Linked DNA regions of Homo sapiens: region 1 is linked to region 2. The links are contacts of gene promoters, found by promoter capture Hi-C in blood cells and fetal thymus (Javierre and others, 2016). All regions are on one chromosome and are shown on one strand. Each heading gives the region's core, a stretch centred on a gene start or on the middle of the fragment in contact. The rest is flanking DNA. Distances are from core to core; before and after follow the strand shown.

Region 1 (2,831 bases), core at 160-2,659, 1.2 Mb after region 2:
AATATATATGCACAAACACATACTTAATCTCTTAATTTCACTCATTTTATATGACTTCATTGTAATTTGAAAGTAGCTCATTGAACAGCAAGCTGTGTGTGCCAAGTACTATGCTAGAAGCCTAGAATTACAAAAGCAAGGACCAGGCAAGGGAAGCAATCTGGTGTTTGGAGGCTAGGCTTTTGCTATTTCTTTAGAGTATATTAAATTTTTTCCTAATTCAGAAATTGTTAGCATTTTAAAACATAAACCCAATTATTTAATGGAGAGTTCAGTTGTATCCAACCTACCTATCAGATGAATTCACCCATTAAAGAACAGGTATAGTAGTGAGAATAGCTGAAGTGGTTAGTGTCTCAGGAGATTCTCAGCCCCAGGCCAGGCCATTTTCACTTAGAATATAACCATAATCATGCACATGTCAAAACTCATTTACTGTAAAATTGATATTGGTTTTGAAATCAGTTAATACTCATTTAAGTAAAGGCAGTGAAAATATCGCAAAGACTTTTCCCTCCCACCTTTTACTTCTCTCTCTTCCTTTGCTTACCTTCACAGGCTCAGTGTTGGAAAAACATTGAAATAGCATTGTTTAGCAATATCTTTTACAATTCTATTTTACAGTTGATGAGAAATTTTAAAAATCTTATTCTTTCAAAAAGTGATCTAGAATGGAAACTCAAAAGACATCCTGTATTACAAAAATGTAACCAAGTCTAATGTTAGACCTGAAAAGCTCAGAGTATTTAATCTTATTTAACAATGGAATAAAAATCCAACAAAGCCTCAAGGGTTTTAAAAAATTGTTTTTGGAAATAAGAAAAGCTTAATTTAAGCAGTAAAGATAATTATCATGCTTAAAACAAATAAGTAGCAGTGAATCACCAAGACCCATTTTACTATGAGTCATAATGATATGTGGTCAGAGTCTTCAGTAGGTATACCTTTTTTTCTTTCTTCTTCTTCTTCTTTTTTTTTTTTTTTAAGAATACCCTTTGGTGGTTTTCTTCTTCCTCCAGATTTTTCATAATTTGGCATTGCTTTCTGGGGCTGAGACTTTTCATCTCTAGAAGATTCAGTACCCTATAAATAAAGTTCTTGTGGTTCACATGGTACAACAGGGCTGATCATATAGATGAGTCCCCTTCGGTGTCACCTACTCAGCTTCTTTCCCCACCCCATCCTGTCTCATGTGCAGACACATAAAATGTTCAGTTGATAAACAGGATGGCTTAAGGTAAAAGGTGAGAAGGAAAAAAAGGATAATATGAAGTGTTTTGAGGGTACAGGTATTATAACTGTTTTTTTTTTTTTGAGATAAGCTGTCACTCTGTTGCTCAGGCTGGAGTGTAGTGGCACGATCATGGCTCACTGCAGCCTTCAACTCCTAGGTTCAATCAATCCTCCTGCCTCAGCCTCCCAAAGTGTGGGATTACAGGCATGACCCACTGCACCCGGCTGAGATATTACATCTTCATATGCCCCTCTTGTGACTAGCACATTTACTCTGTCTCTAATAGGAGATCAGTAAAGATCTGTCAACAACGAGAATGAATGAATGAATGAGGGGTCCTCGAGAATGGTTTGCAGCCTCTTTTACTGCATCTGGGAAAGCAACTGAATTGAAAGAAAGTTATATATAAGGACATTGGAATAATAATAACATCTATTATAGTACTTTATAATAGCTATAAAACACTTTCACATGGTTTATCTCATTTGAACCTCACAAAACCCTTGTTAAGGAGGCAGATGTTATTATACATGGAAAAGATGACGATGTTTTCCTTCAATATATCACTTACAAAGCACCAGCCTGTGGGAGTGTTTGTCCCCTGGATAGCATATCATTAGTTGTGGTCACTGTGGTGAGCAACAAACCATTTTAAAGATTAGAACTGCACCAGTCTAAGGATGAAATAATTAATGCAACGAGTAGTCTTTATGTACACATGGACAGACTGGCGAGGAATGGGATGCGATAGAAGCTTATAAACTATTATGTAAATAACAGACATTTAATGAGAACTTACTGTATGCCAGGCACTTTGATAGGTCCCTTTTCGTACATTTTCCCCATTTAACGAATGAGGAAATTGAGACTCTTAGAGATTGAGTGACTTGCCCAAGGCCACAGAGTAAGTATATGCCAGGGGCAGAATTCTAATATCCAAAAAGTATAATAAAAGTTCCTATGTTGGCCAGGTGTGGTCACGCCTGTGATCCCAGCACTTCGAGAGGCTGAGGTGGGAGGACTGCTTGAGCCCAGGAGTTTGAGACCAGCCTGGGCAACGGAGTGAGACCTTGTGCCTAAAAAAAAAAAAAAAAAGTTCCTATCTTAAAGAGCTTGAAGGAAAAATCATGAATAACACACATCAGCAGATAAATATAGATGTGGCACAGAACAAACTCAATTGTTCAAATTAAAAATTCAAGCAGTGCACACTGCATGAGCTAAAGTGGTTGTTAAGTTCTTGAGAGAGGTCAAAAACTTAAACTTACCCTTGAAAGGTGAATAGGATTTGGACAGGTTGCGTGGAAGGGGAAGGTGTTTCAGGCAAAGTGAAATGCATCAGCAATTTGCAATACAAGTATGAGCATAACATAGTCAAGGGACAATATAAAGGGAAGATTTCCATGGTCATTCGCAATCACAATCTTGTATGATTTAGGGCATGGAGTTAGATATGTCAAAAAATTCAGAGAGATATTAGACGTGTTCTACAGAGAGTTAGAGGGGGATCAGTGGGGGCCATTGAAAACTGAGTATGTTGATAAAAGTTCCATGGAGGATCTAAATCTAGAGCTCAATTCAAATGAAATTTTAGACC
Region 2 (2,745 bases), core at 211-2,710:
TCATAATCAGTTATATTGCCTCAAATAGATACTTCATTTTCAACACATGTGCAATAGAATTGCAGAGGGAGGTCGAAGATAATATCCTAGCCTGCAATTTGGGGTATTTTGAATAAATGAATAACAGCATGTATTGGGAGCGCCCCGACTCCCAATACATGCAGAATAGCAGACGTGTATTGAGCCCTTAGTTGTTTTTTTTTTAAATATAGTTCATTCACTCAACAAATATTTCTGAGAACCTGCGAATGCTTGGGACATCAGGGCACAACAAAAAGGCCAAGGATTTCTGTGTCCACATCCTGAGGTGGTAATGGGGTGAGGGACAGACTGTACAATAAAAAACCTACGATTCACTCCATGAAAATGTTGTCGTTTTTCTAGTTCAGCTGGTAAACTGGACTGTGAAGAAAGAATGCTCTAAGCACAGTGTTAAATTCACAACCAGGGCCCAATCCTAGTTTCGATTCACTCACTGACACCCTGGTTGCTAATTACAAGTCTGAAATCCATCAAGGTAGTTAACATCTCTAAACATCAAAGCAATAGCGGTTTTAGGCCCTAAGAAAGTGCAGCCCGGAGAAGTATTAATGCAAAATGTGCTACGGCTGTTATTTAAATTCTATTCAAATCGAATGTGGCTTGCCTATTTATAATCTGACTTATAATTCTGGACAACCAAGCTACGTTGGGCTGTGTTCCTCGGCTGCCACAAATCATCGTCACAGGCTGAAAGCTCAACTGCTTCGTGCTCTTTATTTTTTCATGCCTATGCCAACGTTGCCGATGTGGTAAAGCTGTCATCACGCCGCCAGAAGGGCGGCCTTCTTTGGCACGAGCAGCCTAAGAGGTTTCCGGCTGCTGCGGCTTGAGCTCCGATTTGATCAGACGCCACGAAAGGGATTTAGATCGTGGCCATTTTTCAACTAAGTGCGTCTGCCGAATTTAATAGCAAACCAAAAGCCACATTTTCTAATCTCCAGTTAGGCGTCCAAGAGGAAAAGTGGCGCTTGCTGGCTGAGGGAGCAGCGTGTCTGCAATTACAGCCACGTCTTGCCTCCTGGTCTTTTCCTCAGTGTGGGATTGTCTTTTTGTTTTTTGCCTGGTCTGAGCCGGCCCCACAGAAAGAACAGACCAGACGAGCTTACTGAGGTAAAACGCAGGGGCGGCGGTGAGGTCTAGGGGGTCTACTCAGAACGAGGCAGAGACACCAGCGAAAAGCGCCGTATGGCGAAGCTAACTCAGGCCTGACAAAACACCCACCCTACTCTACCGCCTCTCCGGCCAAGGCTGACGCTACGGGCCAGAGGGCGGAGCCGTCACATCTTCCCGCGAGACCAGCCACGCGACTTCCCAGAAGGCCGCAGGCAACATCTTAATAGCAGCCAGGAAGCCGGACCGGAGCGGAAGGGTGGGCGGGGCTTGCCCGCATATTTAGCGGCACCCGAGGCCACGCCCCAGATCGGAAGTGACGGAGACGTGCTAGCGCGTCGAAGGTAGCTCTATGGTTTTCCTCGCGTTCTTGAGTCGGGAAATGGCCGCTGTGTGGTTGCAACGGAGATAAATTCCCGGAACCGCGATTCGGCGTGTCAGGTAGGCCTCGCAATGTATTCAAGTTACTCCAGGGGCAGTGAAGACCGAGGACAGGCCATATTTTTGACTCTTTTGTGGGTGGTGTCGGGTTGGCGGCGAAAGGAGAACCAAGGAGACGTTGCGCCGTTATTTATGCGTTTTTTCGTTAGCTTCTCTCAGGTTTTCGAGGCACTACGGGCCGAAAAGGCCGGGCGGGGGCGCTGAGCAGTGCTAACGGCGGGCGCGCGCGTGTTTGCGAACCTGCCTGGAGACCCACAGCCCGCGCGGCCTCCCGTGCGCGTGCGCATATCTTCCTCTTCCACCCTTCCCCCATTTCTTCAGCCCGTACCTCTGCGCGCGCCCGACTGAACGCTCCGCGCACGCGCGCTCGTTCATTTTTCTCTCCCCCGCCTATGGCGCCGACGGCCGCTGGAGGTGCAACTTGTGTCCGCCTCTCATTGGCTGGGACTGCCACCTTTCTTCGTGGCCTGTGGGGTTTTGAGAAAATAACTGTGACCCGCAGCAAAGTGCGTTGAGTAGGTCTACCCCTTTTCGCGTGGTCTTTAAAACTGCCCTCCGGCTTCAGACCACCCGTCAGTTAATGCCTCGTTTTTGTGATGCTACTAGGTTTTAGTGCTCTGTTCTGCCTCTCGCTGCTGACCCTGGTTCTCTGGAGTTAATTTCGGTACCCGCGGCAACCTGCTGTTTTGAAGCGAGCGCGCGCTGTTGACTGGTGCTGGTTGCCTAGTTACGGTTCCCTAGCGAGAGGATTGGGTCTTAGCTGGTGGTTCTGAGCGTGGCCCTGCCCCATCCGGCTGAAAGTGCGGTTCTTCATGAGTACTAGCGAAGCCGAGTCTTTTCAAGTGATTCAGCCCATTTAGTCGTGTCAGAAATGTTGCAGCCACGATTGGTGGACAGCTGGTGTGAGAAATGGGTGGGAGTGGCGAATTGGACTTTGCCTTCATTTTAAATTCATGAGTTGGCTTGATTCGCTTTTAAGATTTATTTCTTCAGAATCAAGCTGAAGTACCAGCAGCTACTTTGCTACCTCAGACTTTTTTAAAAAGCATTTTAGAACTGGAAACAAATTAAGACTGAAGTTGAAAGCAAGTGTGGCTAACACTGACGAAAAAGATGAGCTACTTCAGACTTGTACCTCACTGCAACAGCCTC

The links. Contacts are between HindIII fragments. The CHiCAGO score rates a contact against its expected background, and 5 or more counts as called.
Region 1: a fragment that was not itself captured here is called in contact with the fragment with the promoter of BCLAF1 in region 2 in 1 of 17 cell types (fetal thymus); the score reaches 6.4 in fetal thymus.

The regions. Positions count from the first base shown.
Region 1 is chr6:135,092,814-135,095,644 of GRCh38, reverse strand. No RefSeq gene overlaps it. Among named protein-coding and RNA genes, the nearest start is that of HBS1L, 39 kb to the right of the region's middle. The HindIII fragment of the contact is 1,163 bases long and covers 828-1,990 here.
Region 2 is chr6:136,288,561-136,291,305 of GRCh38, reverse strand. It overlaps BCLAF1 (BCL2 associated transcription factor 1), which reads left to right and starts at 1,460. Exons shown (of 13, transcript NM_014739.3): 1 at 1,460-1,593. LOC124901408 (a long non-coding RNA gene) reads right to left here and starts at 1,292. Exons shown (of 4, transcript XR_007059784.1): 1 at 1,149-1,292. RefSeq lists enhancers at 765-884, 1,205-1,424, 789-1,988, 1,935-2,054, 1,473-2,069 and 2 more. The HindIII fragment of the contact is 10,003 bases long and covers 1-2,745 here.